Regions from separate parts of the Homo sapiens genome. Here regions 1 and 2 are each linked to region 3. Evidence: promoter capture Hi-C in human tissues and cell types (Jung and others, 2019). All regions are on one chromosome and are shown on one strand. The core of a region is centred on a gene start or on the middle of the fragment in contact, and the rest is flanking DNA. Distances in the headings are between cores, read along the strand shown. Region 1 has its middle 28 kb from the start of LINC01987. Region 2 overlaps CYTH1 (cytohesin 1). Region 3 holds the start of BIRC5 (baculoviral IAP repeat containing 5).

Region 1 (4,596 bases), core at 1,767-4,266, 460 kb after region 3:
TGAATGCAGTCAAGGTGCTGTTGAACGCCGTCACGGTGCTGTGACAGTCACAGTGTTGTTGAATGCAGTCACGGTGTCGTTGAACGCCGTCACGGTGCTGTGACAGTCACAGTGTTGTTGAATGCAGTCAAGGTGCTGTTGAATGCCGTCACGGTGCTGTGACAGTCACAGTGTTGTTGAATGCAGTCAAGGTGCTGTTGAATGCCGTCATGGTGCTGTGACAGTCACAGTGTTGTTGGCGAGTGATATTTCTTGTATTCGCATGGTGGAACTATTATGAAATGAGGGCTACATCTCTTTCCCACCATGGGTTCAGAGATGTCATGTCGTTGGTTTGAAATTGGCTGCAATATGGCTGGGCACAGTGGCTCACGCCTGTTATCCCAGCACTTTGGGAGGCTGAGGCGAGCAGATCACGAGGTCAGGAGATTGAGACCATCCTAGCTAACACAGTGAAACCCCGTGTCTACTAAAAATACAAAAAATTAGCCTGGCGTGGTGGTGGGCGCCTGTAGTCCCAGCTACTCGGGAGGCTGAGGCAGGACAATGGTGTGAACGTGGGAGACGGAACTTGCAGTGAGCCGAGATCGTGCCACTGCACTCCAGCCTGGGAGACAGAGCGAGAGTCCATCTCAAAAAAAAAAAAAAAGAGAAGTTTATAAACTTCAGTTATGTATTCTGGCCAATTAATGGGAGGGAGACAAAGAGAAAAGCTGAAATAGAGGAGAAAAAGGAAGGGAAAGGAGGAAGCAGAGAAAGAATGAGAGATGAGAGTGAGGGAGAACTTTGAAGAAGGCCAGAGAAAGAAAACAATAGGCCGGGTTCAGTGGCTCACACCTGTAATCCCAGCACTTTGAGAGGCTGAGGCGAGCGGATCACCTGAGGTCAGGAGTTCAAGACCAGCCTGGCCAAAATGGCAAAACCGCATCTCTACTAAAAATACAAAAATCAGCTGGGCGTGGTTGTGGGCCCCTGTAATCCCAGCTACTTGGGAGGCTGAAGCAGGAGAATCGCTTGAACCCAGGAGGTGGAGGCTGCAGTGAGCTGAGATTGCACCATTGTACTCCAGCCTGGGCGAAAAGAACGAAACTCCATCTCAAAAAAAAAGGACCAAGCTGCTTCCTTTGGTTGCCTCCATCCTGTTGGTGGGTCCAGCCACCTGAGCGTTGGAACCCCAGCACTGAGGGCAGCATGAAAAGGTGAGGTGCTGACCTTGTCCTTCCCCACCCGAGCCCAGAGCCTGGGAGAAAGGAGTATGTTGCAGCGGGGGTCTTCCTGTTGTGGAGGGTGCCGTGCGGGAAGTGGGGTGACAGTAGCAGTTTCCAGTGTTGGTGTTTGTCAGCATTTCCAAGAAGGGCAGAGGAAGGCCAGGCTGGGCTTACTGATGTCCCTACTTCCTGGTCCCCAGGGGGAGCCCCTGAAATTTATCCCCAGTCACCTGCTCTTCACGATCCTGCTCTTGATGGGAGAGACAGAACACCAGTCTTCCTCTGGAGAGACGTTTCTCCAGACACTCAAGGGCCCATATACATGACAATTACTGCTTAAAAATGTATCTGTTTGCTACATGCCTGCAAGTGGGTGTAAATCATACAGCGGCCATAAAACCAGCCATAACCCACGCATGGCCGGGACCCCAGGAGCTCCTGCTACAGGCTGGGCGGCTTTATCTCAGCGGCTCAGAGGGAGAAGCCCTGCCTTTATGTTGGGAGGAACTAGAAGAGCCTAATTTTATTTATTTTTAATCAACCATTTCAGCATGTTCCCTCTAGTCAAAGGCAGAGCTGGAGTGCGACACAGTCACATCATTTATATTTAGCTTTTATTTACCCAGGGAAGTCTTGGGAGATGTAGTATCTCGTTTGTAGAGACACCCCAGTGGCAACATTCCATTACTCAGAGCCCTAAATGAGCTTTGCACAGACCCTGGGAGGGAGGGCAGGCGGACCTTCCACCGTCAGGAAGACTGAGCCTGCTGGGACCAGCTGCCTCCTGCCTTTGATGGCATTGGTTGGAGCCTTCAGCTTGGGCACTGGAAAAATACAAGGTAGACTCTTCCCTACAGCCTGCAGTTGGGAACCCTGTGTGTGCAGCTGGTCTGCCTTCCTGACAGGGTGGTCTTTGCTGCTCAGCCTCTCCTGGCCTCACCTGGCAGCCTGGTCCAGTCCACTACTCCTGTTTGCAGATGCCAAGAGGCTGGCTGCCCCTCCTTGGGTCAACTGCAGGACCTCTGTCCCCTACCACGTGGTTAACGCCTCCCACCCTGAGTGGGACTCCAGGATACCACTCTATCCTCACTCATCTTATTTTCTGGGGGAGGCGCAGGTTGATGGTTTCTGAGTCAGAGGCAGCAAGGCAGGGTGGGTGGTTTTTTTGTGATTCCTGCAAACTATAAACAGCCAGAAGCTTCTCCAGCCAATGTCCCTTGTCTCTCGCCTCTGTGGGCTCGGGAACACCCGAGCATGGTGGAATGGGGAGGGAGGAGGTGGGAGGGTTGAAATTCACTGGGGTCACGCGGAAATGAAGGGAGAAGTGGTTCATTTGAGCTCAAACGTCCTTCCCGTCCCTCTGTTTGGTAAAGTGAGGCCTGAGTGCCGGGCAAATGACCAGATCCAATATTCATTAGCGCTCCTGAGAGATGGATGGAGGCACCTCATTATGGGGTGCTTCACCTCCAACCCCCTCACCCACAGTGGATATTTACATAATAACCTGACCCCCGGGTTACTTTTCATTAACAAACACGTGTGAAAATGCAGAAGCCGCTGGCAATTTTGTATCATAAATACATATTGTTAACCCAGTGTAGACGGCTTACTTGCAGTTACTCAAAAAAGAGGGGGTCCCCTGTTCTTCATAGCCATTAGGTACCAGATGGAGGGGCCCCAGCAGAGTATGGTAGAGAGCTCTAGACTGTGCATTCAAGGTGGGTGGGGGGTGACATACCTCTTCATTTGAGTGCAGAGTTCAACATTCAATTAATGTCCTTGCAAGGGTTCTGGGTGTCCCTGCCTCACTCCCTTTGGAGGCCCTGAGGTCTGGGGAGCTAGGGACGGGGCATTTCAGGTTAACTTGTTAAGTGCTTGTGGCAGGGTCACCCTCCCTTCCCTGGCTGTGGGACGTGGAGAGAGAACCAGGGATGTGCACATTCAGTTCTGGGATGAATGCACCATGTTCCCTGAGTCACACGCTGAAGGGCCGTGGGGTCCCAGGCTGCCTTCTTGCTTTGGGTTGCCCTCTTCTTCTCTCTGGGGTTCTAGCCCATTTGTGCAGGGAGGGGGTTCTGGAGATGGGGGTCTCTGAGTGGTGTGGGGCGGTGCATGCTCTCTCTGACTGTCCTTCGTGCCAGGGACATTGTGTGTTCCTGGGGGGACACTGTGGTGTTCCCAGGAAGCAGGAAGGGTTCACCTCGGTGAAGCAGCCTGTGGCTCTGGTGGGGACAGGGGAGGGCTGAGCTAAGGAAGGGCTGGTGCCAAGGCCGGGGCATGCTGGGCTTCCCTCTGCCTTTCCAACCTCATAGCTCCTCTCCTGGAAAAGTGGAAATTCACCCGTGGGTCCCTGGGCAGCCTGCTACAGGCTCAGGGCTACAGTGTGGATGCCAGGCGACCCATAGGTTCTGCTGGAAAGACCCTCTCTGGCTCACAAGGTGCTCCCTGGTAGGCTGTACCTGAGAGCTGTCCTAGGCCATGGACAGCCAGAACCCCGATGTGTCATCCCCGACTCATTTCCTGGCTGTTGCTTTGAGTCCAGTGGCTCATCTCTGGAGTGACCCCGCTGACCACACTCACAGATTGACATCAAAGACCAGAGGTCAGTTCTCCATTTGCCATATGGAGAACAACTTGGCAGACCCGCTGCCTATGTGAGCTGATCTGGATTCTTTCCCTGTAGGCCAGCTCCACGGACCATTGGCTAGCATGGCTAACACAAACTAAGTGCCACTCATATGCCATGTGTATTAGTTACCTATTGCTGTGTAACAAATTACCCCAAAACTTAGTGGCTTAAAATAAGAAATGTTGGTTATCTCACAAAGTTTCTGAGGTCTTGGGAATCTGAGCATGGCTTTACTGGGTGGTTGTGGCTCAAAGTCTTTCATGAGGTTGCAGTGCAGCTGTCAGCCAGGGCCACTGCCTCTACAGGTTGAACAGGGGCAGAAGAATCCACATCTACAGTGGCTCCCTCACTTTGCCGTCGGTTGGGGGCCTTTGTTCATCGCCATGTGGCCCTCCCCATAGGGCTGCTTGAGTGTCCTCACAACATGGCAGCCGACTTTCCCTGAGCATGTGAAGAAGAACAAAAGGAAGAAGCCACCCAGCCTTTTATGACCTGGTTTTGCAAGTGGCGTTGTTATGTCTGCAATATTTCATTCATTAGAAGGGAGTCACTAAGTTCAGCCCACCTTCAAGAAGAGAAAAATTAAATTCCACCTCTTAAAGGGAGGAGAATCAAAGAATGTAAGAACATATTTAAAGACTACCACAGTAGGCGTAAGGTTAGGTGCTTAACATGTGTTGCCTCATTTAATCCTCAGGACAACTCCCATCTTACAGACGAGGAAACCAAAGCTCAGAATGGTTACAGGAGGTGTCCTTG
Region 2 (4,508 bases), core at 161-2,660, 490 kb before region 3:
CTAAGACAGCAAATGTTATTCTTTCAGAATTCTTCACAAGACATTAGGAGTGGGGTTAAGGAGGGAATCCTGTTGCCCAAAGTAGCAAAATGAGGAAAGACTTGACTTTCTCTGGAGTTGATTTAAGTATATTTTGATAGTTCTCCCTGATCCTTTGATTTCTGCTTCACTGGTAGATCGTGAGAAAGCTAAGCAGCTCTCCACTTAAGCCCCACTTCCCCGTGAGAGCCCATCCATTCTGACCAACAGTGTGCTGGAATGAGGAGGGTGGGTGCGGATGCACAGCCGATTTGATCAGACATTCCCTTTGCCAGCCGCTTGGTGGCATTGTTGCCCTGGCACAGCTACTGCAGGCTCTGCAGCCTGGGCTTTGGGTAGGAGACTTTGTCCTCTGAATTTTCTGGCATGCTTGTGTTTAGTAAGCTGCAGACTTGTTCTGAAAGATTGTGATGAGGCAGCCAGGTTTTGTTTTTCACACAGCATATATGCTTATAAACTTTCCTAGACCGTAAACTCCTTGAGGTCAGAGGCTGTATTCTTTTCTACCTTGGTGTTTTCTGGAATGCTTACTGTTTGGTAGGCACTCAATAAATATTTCTGAAACATGAATTTTCCTAATTTACTTTTTGCATTTTTGTCATATTTTGTTTCATTTTGCTTTATTTTGTTTTTGGTTGGAGGGAGTTATGTGAGATTTTAGAAGTTTTAATTTGATCTGCATCTGCCTTTCCTGCTGACTCTGGACTGTCTGTTTTATAGAGGCTGAAGGATGAGATAGCAGAAGTAGCTAATGAAATTGAAAACCTGGGATCCACAGAGGAAAGGTGAGTCTGCCCTGCTGCCAGGTGGCTTCTGTGGTTGTAATTCCTTAAAGCACCCAGGCCTTAATTATGCTTACGTGGCACATTGAAGGAAAAAGTCAGCTTTGTGTCTTTCTAATTCTAGCAAGCACATACACACCCATAATGTCTGCCTTCCATCCTTCACCGCAAGGCCTCCTGAACATAGGAGCTTCTTCCAGTGTTTAAAAAATTGAACTGGAGGCCGGGCGCGGTGGCTCACGGCTGTAATCCCAGCACTTTGGGAGGCCGAGGCAGGTGGATCACGAGGTCAAGAGATCGAGACCATCCTGGCCAACATGGTGAAACCCTGTCTCTACTCAAAATACAAAAATTAGACGGGTGTGGTGGTGCACACCTGTAGTCCCAGCTACTCGGGAGGCTGAGGCAGGAGAATTGCTTGAACCCGGGAGGTGGAGGTTGCAGTGAGCTGAGATCGCGCCACTGCACTCCAGCCTGGTGACAGAGCGAGACTCCGTCTCAAAAAAAAAAAAAAAAATTGAACTGGAGAACTTCAAAGGTCCCAGAAAGCCTTAAACTGCTCCTAAATTTTTATGTGAATTACTCCCCTCTGTTGTCCACTGTCGGTGTGCATTTTAAAGTTTCTGTTTTTCCTTTGTGTAAAGGAAAAGCTTAATGAATGCTGCTGATACGATTTCAAAGGGCTGGAGTGTCCAGTCATGTCTGAGGATAATCGTGAGCTTATTTGCACCTTCCTAATGCTTAAGGGAAGAAAATGTAGAAATGCGATGATAGTATAAAAGGACAAGGACTCTGCTTTTTTTTTTCCTTTTATTTTCATGAAATGTTAGTGACTTTGAGAGTTTAGTTTTGAATGGGGTTCCCAGACCGTTTTCTGACTGCTTAATGCAATAAATGAGCTGTTTCCAATTCACTACATGTCTGTATTTTTCTAAGCCTAAGTCTTCCTGTCTGGCTTCGTAGGACTGTTTGATTTGTTGTTTTAGACTCCTGTGGGCAGTGCCTTCAGGGTATAGTGAGGCTGAGTCCTCCACAGAAGGCAGCCAGCTCACCACGGCCAGTCTCTGTATTGTCCATTTGGTATTTTGGATTAGTTTCCCCTCTTTCCATTTTAAACACTCGTAGCTTAAATGAAACGGATACGTTGGACTTCATAAAAATTTAAAACTTCCGCTTTTGTAAAAGATAAAACTATTAAAAACTATTAAAAGAAATGAACAGGCAACAGATTAGAAGTAAATATTTGTAACAAATATATCTGAAAAAGGACTTGTATCTAGAATATATGATAGAAAGGCAGCCCAAATAAGAAAATGGGCAAAAAACTTGGACACTTTACAAAAGAAGCCATATGTGTAGTAGACACATGAAAAATGCTTAACATCATTAGTTGTAGGGGATGTAATTTAAAACCACCATGAAACGGTACTTCACATCCCCTATGATGGCTAGAATTAAAAAGACTGATGGTACCTCATGTTGGCAAGTGCTAGTGAGAATAAAATAATATAACCATTTGGGAAAGAAGTTTGGCAGTTTCATCAGCAATTCAACTCCTAGTTACTTAAGAGAAATGAAAACATGTCCATACAAAGACTTGTACAAGAATATCTATAGCATTCTTATATAAAATAACCAAAAGCTGGAAATACCCTGAATGGCTGCCAGCAGGTGACTGGATAAACAGGTCGAGGTAATAGACTATTACTCAGCAGTGTGAAGGAATGAACTGCTAGCGTGCAGCAGCACGGATGAATCTCACGAACATTGTGATGAGTGAAAGAAACTGTGGGCACCGTGTGCTTCCATGCGTGAGCATCTAGAACATGCAAACTAAGCTGTGCTAGTGTGCTAGCCGAAATCATGACAGTGCTGCCTCCGAGGTGGTTGCTGGGGCGGGGTGGGGTGGGGTTGACTAGGAAGGGCCATAGGGAACTTACAGGGATGGCAGGAATATTCTGTATTAATCTGAGTGGTGCTTCAAGGGTATATGCACTCATCAAAACAAATTGAACTGTGCACTTAAGGTGTGTGCATTTTGTTAAATGTAAATTTTACCTCGATCTTAAAAATGTAAAAAAAAATGGCTTTTTTCTGACTATAAAGGTAATACACCTTTACTGCAGAAAATTGGTAAAATACAGAAAAGTATAAAAAACAAATTTCTCATAAACACTTATCCCAGAGATAATCAGGATTCATATTTTGGTACGTTTCCTTTCTGTATATTCCGGTGTCTGCACACACATATTCAGAATTCAGTGTGCCCTTTGTTTTTCTCTTGATTAATTCTCTGTCAGTTACCATAGAACAGCAAGGAAACGCAGACACCAGGAACGTGAGTGCATCCAAAGTACTCAGCCAGTGAATTTGGGAAGACTTGTAACTCATGAACTGCATCTGAAGTTGTGAGTCAGGAAGTAGTCTTTAGGTTATTATTATTTTTTAATCTGGAACTTAAAATGGTTTTCCGGTATCGAAAGCGCCAAGACGGAAGTGATTCTGCACATCCCTGAGGATCCATCCATACGGGTACTCAGGCTCACCCTGCATTTGTTTCTCAAGCAGGCATTACATTTGCTCGGACTTTCTTATAGGAGAGAATTCATGTTTCTCATCGACGATCTGATGCATTTTGTAGGAATGATCCTAAATACTATTTAATCAAGCAGAAATAATATACTCATGTAGTACAGGATTTCACTTTCTGAAATGTATACGCGTCAGTTAACTAAGGCGATCCAGTAGCAGTAAGCTGTTTTCCTTTGGACACCTTAACTGGGGTGTCAGACCTGTGTAGGCTGGGGAAAGCCACTTAGAGAAGTAGCTGCCTAAGGCCTAGAGCTATAGGGGCTCCAAGTGGGGCAGATAGAGAAGTGAGCTGGCTAGCTAATGAAATTAGGGAGCCATCTCTGGTGTGTGTCCCAGGCAGTCATGTGGCACAGACTGTGACTGGCGGATATCTGGGAGTGTGCGTTCTGGTGGCTGCAGGAAAGCCTTTGGTGAGGACTGGACTGAGGCCCAGGAAGCTGAGCATTCCCAGGAGTTTCACCCCTTGCTTCTGTGGGCACCTCTGACGCTGCCTCACCACTTACACTGGAAACCATGAAACAGGCCTTCCTTGTGGTATTTGTTTGGAAATACTGATCAAAGTAATCTTCCTGGATTTAGAAAAAAATGATTAGACAATCATTTTAGTTAAATAGGAATTTCTAGATACCTGGTCATAACCCTTCATTCTGGCTGAAATTAAATGGTGTTTCCCCCATGACTTTGTTTCCTAAGGCAGCTGTTGACAGGGGAGCCCAGATTATCTTACACCTGGAAGTTCTGATACTACTCACAGTTTTCAGGTGTTCCTTTCAAAAGGTCAAAACAGCCTGGATGCGATGACTCATGCCTATAATACCAGCATTTTGGGAGGCCAAGGTAGGAGGATTGCTTGAGGCCAGGAGTTTAAGACCAGCCTGGGTTACATAGCAAGACTCTGTCTCTACAAAATATTTTAAAAAGTAGCCAGTTGTGGTAGTATCTGCTTGTAGTCCTAGTTACTCAGGAGGCTGAGGCCGGAGGATCACTTGAGCTCAGGAGTTAAAGGTTGCGGTGAGCCACAGTCACACCACTGTACTCCAGCCTGGGTGACAGAGCAAGACCCTGCCTGTAACAAAAACAAAAACACAAAAAACA
Region 3 (5,101 bases), core at 1,133-3,632:
CAGCTGAAGGGATTAAAGCGGCAGTCCACTCCCCACGGGCCACCTCCCCACGCCCTCCACAGGCACACCCTGCTCTGCCTCAGGAGTAAGACGTCAAGTCTGAAGTTGATGGCATCAGTGCTTTGCCCAAGCCACATTCCCATATGGCACCTCTTAGCACCTTCTCTCTCCCTGTGGACATCTCCCCCCACATCTGTGTGGCTAATGTATCTATTTTATCTGGACTTCCTTAGCAATTAGTTGGAAAAGTGTTACATGGTATATGTCCAAAGGAATTACATGTCAAATCCCTCCAACATTCTCAAGGAACTGTTTGAAGTAATTTCATTTCACTGGAATTGTTATGTAATCCACTGTAAAGATTTTTTTCTTTTTTTTTTTTTTTTGAGACGGAGTCTCATTCTGTCGCCCAGGCTGGAGTGCAGTGGTGCAATCTCGGCTCACTGCAAGCTCCGCCTCCTGGGTTCACGCCATTCTCCTGCCTCAGCCTCCCGAGTAGCTGGGACTACAGGCGCCCACCACCACGCCCGGCTAATTTTTTGTATTTTTAGTGGAGACGGGGTTTCACCGTATTAGCCAAGATGGTCTCGATCTCCTGACCTCGTGATCCGCCCGCCTCGGCCTCCCAAAGTGCTGGTATTACAGGCGTAAGCCACCGTGCCCGGCCCACTGTAAGGATTAAGGGCAGAGAAGGGCATTATTGCCCCGGGTTCCCCAAGGGACCCCCTAGCTCACACTCTCATTTTCTGCTAGGGGAGTCTCCCTGTATAACTGACTATCACCGTTACCAGAACTGCATTACAATGAAAACATGGCCACACAAAGTCCAAAAAGACAGCCAGTTGTAACTCTAATCTGAAAATATCATAACACTTATTCATTTTCAAGAAGAATACCACTGATCTTTTCCCAGTGATTACGGGGATGCAGTATAACCACCATAGCAAACATACTAAGAAAAAAAACAGCTACTCTCTTCTGGCCAAAAAGAAAAACAACTGGGGTGATTCTCCAGGGGAAAAAAATTAAAGCTGTGGAAGCAACTGAATCCGACAGAAAAAAAGGTGAGAAAAGAATATGGCATTACAGTGTGGAAAGACAGATACCATCCGAGTACAGAATTTCATTGTCATTAACTAGGCATCTTGAAGAAAAAAATCCAGAACAACACTGAAGTATATGCTTTCTTTCTTTTTTTTTTTTCAATTTTTTATTTTTATGACGGAGTCTCGCTCTGTCGCCGAGGCTGGAGTGCATTGGCACAATCTCGGCTCACTGCAACCTCCGCCTCCCAGGTTCAAGCGATTCTCCTGCCTTAGCCTCCCGAGTAGCTGGGATTACGGGCGTGCGCTACCATGCCCGGCTAATTTTTGTATTTTTAGTAGAGACGGGGTTTCGCCAAGTTGGCCAGGCAGGTCTTGAACTCCTGACCTCAGGTGATCCGCCCGCCTCAGCCTCCGAAAGTGTGAAGTGCACACTTTCAAAGGGTAATTTTTGTGCTGTGTAGGTTATATTTCAATTAAACTGTTTTTTAAAAAATCTCAAAAAAAGCACTTGGACGTTCCTGGGAGTTCACAACAACAGGGTCTGCTGATGTATTCTGTTGAACATGAAAGGCATCAGGCATCTTACGTCCACCCCAAGGCATTTTGGTCAAATGAGATTTAATTAGGTTGTAAGCATCACCAAGGCACCAGCATATAGAGAGGTATCCGTTCACAACAGCTGTTTAAGAAGCAATGAGGGTGGAAAGCAACCCTCCCATACTAAGTGTCTTTGCAACTCAAATCTTTTGACAACTCAGTTCAAAACAAAGCCCATCGAGGCTGGCCAGAGAAGACTTACATGGGGTCGTCATCTGGCTCCCAGCCTTCCAGCTCCTTGAAGCAGAAGAAACACTGGGCCAAGTCTGGCTCGTTCTCAGTGGGGCAGTGGATGAAGCCAGCCTCGGCCATCTGCAAGGGACAGCACAGCTCGTGAGTGGACGTGGCAGCCCGGAACCCCGAGGCCCAGCCACAAAGGCCTCGATGGGGACAAAGCAGGGAGGGGAGGCCGGCCTGGACCCAAGGGGCCCAGCCACAGTGGCCTCGCTGGGGACAGGACGGGGAGGGGAGGGCGGCTTGTACCCCCGAGGCCCAGTCACAGTGGCCTCGCTAGGGACAGGGCAAGGCGGGCGTGGGGGACCCCAGGAGGCCGGGCAGTCTCACCCGCTCCGGGGTGCAGGCGCAGCCCTCCAAGAAGGGCCAGTTCTTGAATGTAGAGATGCGGTGGTCCTTGAGAAAGGGCTGCCAGGCAGGGGGCAACGTCGGGGCACCCATGCCGCCGCCGCCACCTCTGCCAACGGGTCCCGCGATTCAAATCTGGCGGTTAATGGCGCGCCGCGGGGCATGTCGGGAGCGCACGCCCTCTTAGGCGGTCCACCCCCCGCGGCCTTCTGGGAGTAGAGGCGGGGCGGCGCGGGGTGTGCCGGGAGTTGTAGTCCTCCCGCCGCGTGGCTCTGCCCGTGGTCGCGGTGCACCCAGCGACGCCGCGCCAGCTCGTCCCTGCCCACACCTAGCGCCCCCTCGACTGCTTTCAAAGAACGCGTGCAGGCCGGGTGCAGTGGCTCACGCCTGTAATCCCAACACTTTGAGAGGCCTAGGCAGGAGCATCACTTGAGTCCTGGAGTTCAAGACCAGCCTGGCCATCACGGTGAAACCTTGTCTCTACTAAAAATACAAAAATTAGCTGGGCGTGGTGGTGCATGCCTGTAATCCCAACTACTCGGGAGGCTGAGGCAGGAGAATCGCTTGAACCCGGGAGGCAGAGGGTGCAGTGAGCTGAGATTGTGCCATTGCACTCCAGCCTAGGCAACAAGAGCAAAACTCAGTCTAAAAAAAAAAAAAAAGTCAGACAGGAGAGCTTTACAGGGTGCCACCTCTGCAAAAAGCATCTACTCCAGACGGGCATGAAGGACAAATGAACAGGGGAGGGATGGAGTGCAGCAGACATCGCTGTCCCGGCGAGTACATCGTTGACTGCACGACCTGGGTTTCCAGGAGGGCCACCTTCTGGAGTCAGGGGCCAGGGACTGGGCCACTACCGTGATAAGAAGACAAGGGAGCTGGGGAAAGCCCAGTGGAGGGTGGGGGCCTGTGCTCAGGGCAAACTCCTCCTTTCCCTTCGCAAAGCAGGGCGTCCCACCAACAGTAAGTCCTGCAGCCTATTAAAAAAAAAATCAGTGTGTCCTCTGCTTTGGAACAGGGTGTTCTGGAGTCACTTCTGGAGCTGGGCATCACATCCACTCACTTCTCTGGTTCTATGGCCAGAGATAAGAGGCCTGGCCTTATTAGCCCTCCAGCCCCACGCAGGCCTGGTGCCTCCACTGTCTTTTTCATTTTGGGGTTTATTTATTTATTTATTTATTTTTGCAACCTCTCCCCACCCCTCCCACCCCGCCCCCATTCTTTAATACAGTAACTTTTTATTTTGATGTTTATTTATTTATTTGAAACTGAGTCTCGCTCTATCGCCCAGGCTGGAGTGCAGTGGCATGATCTCAGCTCACTGCAACCTCCTCCCCGCCACGGGTTCAAGCGATTCTCCTGCCTCAGCCTCCCGAGTAGCTGAGATTAAAGGCATGCACCACCACACCAGGCTAATTTTTGTATTTTTAGTAGAGATGGGGTTTCACCATGTTTGCCAGGCTGGTCTCAAACTCCTGACCTCAAGTGATCTGCCTGCCTCGGCCTCCCAAAGTGCTGGGATTACAGATGTGAGCCACTGCGCCCGGCCCGATGTCAATTTAAATAAAAGATAATTGCAAGAATAGTACAAAGAATACTCATATACCCTTCACCCAGATTTTCTGTTTATGTTTTGCCTGTTTCCTTTAACATTCACTCTCTGCTTCTTCCTCCCTTTCTCTCCTCCTCTCCCTCTCTTACCCCTTCCCTCTCTCTACTCCCCGCTCTCTCTCTGTCTCCTGTTTTCCTTTCTCTCTCCCTCTCCCCAACCTACTTTCTCTCCCCTAGTCTCTCTCCCCTCATATATGTGAACACACACACATCCCTGTATGTGTATATATCACATGCATGTATATGTATGTATATGGGTGGTTTACCTGAACCGTTTGTAAGTTGAAGGCATTACCATACTACCCCGAAATACTTCATTCTCTTACACAACCACAACACAATCATCAAAATCAGGAAACTTAACTTCGCTGCAGTTATCAAATCCAGTTGACTTTGGCAGGTCGCCCCTGGGTCCTGCTGATTGGCTCGCTAACCGGGCCCTGGCACCACCATGGCCTCTGCTGGGGTGGCCCCCAGGCACAGACCAAGGACGCACCACCTCCACTGGCAACCGCAGCAGTTGCCTGCCCTCAGGAGGGAGGAAAGGAACAACTCCTTTTCACTTTTTTTTTTTTTTTTTGAGACAGAGTCTTGCTCTGTCGCCAGGCTGGAGTGCAGTGCAGTGGCACAATCTTGGCTCACTGCAACCTCCATCTCCTGGGTTCCAGCAATTCTCTGCCTCAGCCCCCCCAGTAGCTGGGATTACATGCGCCCGCCACCATGCCCGGCTAATTTTTTTGTATTTTTAGTAGAGACGGGGTTTCACCATCTTGGCCAGGCTGGTATTGAACTCCTGACCTCGTGATCCACCCGCCTCAGCCTCCCAAAGTGCTGGGATTACAGGCATAAGCCAGCATGCCCGGCCTAACTCCTTTTCACTTCTGCACACAATGTCATCAAATGCATGGACAAGGACAGCCCAGGTGTCCACCTGGACCTGAACACCCTCAAAACCGAGTTCCAGGAGCTTCAAAAGCTCATGGGCACCGGGCCCCCAGCATCCTCCCGAGCCCGAGCAGCAGCTGCAGCCCCACAGCATCCAGGTGTAAGTTAGGACCAGAAGGGGCTTCTACAAAAGTGCCAGAGTCTCTGCACATTTGAAATCCCTGAGAAGCAGAGTGAGGCTGACTTCAGGAATGGCTGAGAAAGACGGGGGGAAGCAGTGGCCTGTGTGCCCCGACCCCCACACAGTCCCTCGGGGTGTGGTCCCTTTGGACCCCAGCTCTGATTTCAAGCTGCCTGGGGTGGGGCTGCTGTGCTGTGCC

What was found. The method cuts DNA at HindIII sites, captures the fragments that hold promoters and counts their contacts. A contact is called where the count stands out against the background at its distance.
Region 1: a fragment that was not itself captured here is called in contact with the fragment with the promoter of BIRC5 in region 3 in 1 of the 25 tissues and cell types used here (dorsolateral prefrontal cortex).
Region 2: a fragment that was not itself captured here is called in contact with the fragment with the promoter of BIRC5 in region 3 in 2 of the 25 tissues and cell types used here (dorsolateral prefrontal cortex and spleen).

What each region holds. Positions count from the first base shown.
Region 1 is chr17:77,754,749-77,759,344 of GRCh38, reverse strand. No RefSeq gene overlaps it. Among named protein-coding and RNA genes, the nearest start is that of LINC01987, 28 kb to the right of the region's middle. The HindIII fragment of the contact is 7,345 bases long and covers 1-4,596 here.
Region 2 is chr17:78,704,513-78,709,020 of GRCh38, reverse strand. CYTH1 (cytohesin 1) reads left to right here. Exons shown (of 14, transcript NM_004762.6): 3 at 760-824. Among named protein-coding and RNA genes, the nearest start is that of SCAT1, 75 kb to the right of the region's middle. The HindIII fragment of the contact is 3,609 bases long and covers 1-3,214 here.
Region 3 is chr17:78,211,534-78,216,634 of GRCh38, reverse strand. BIRC5 (baculoviral IAP repeat containing 5) reads right to left here and starts at 2,382. Exons shown (of 4, transcript NM_001168.3): 1 at 2,208-2,382; 2 at 1,846-1,955. The coding sequence starts at 2,318. RefSeq lists an enhancer at 1,736-2,637 and a silencer at 4,534-4,737. The HindIII fragment of the contact is 20,243 bases long and covers 1-5,101 here.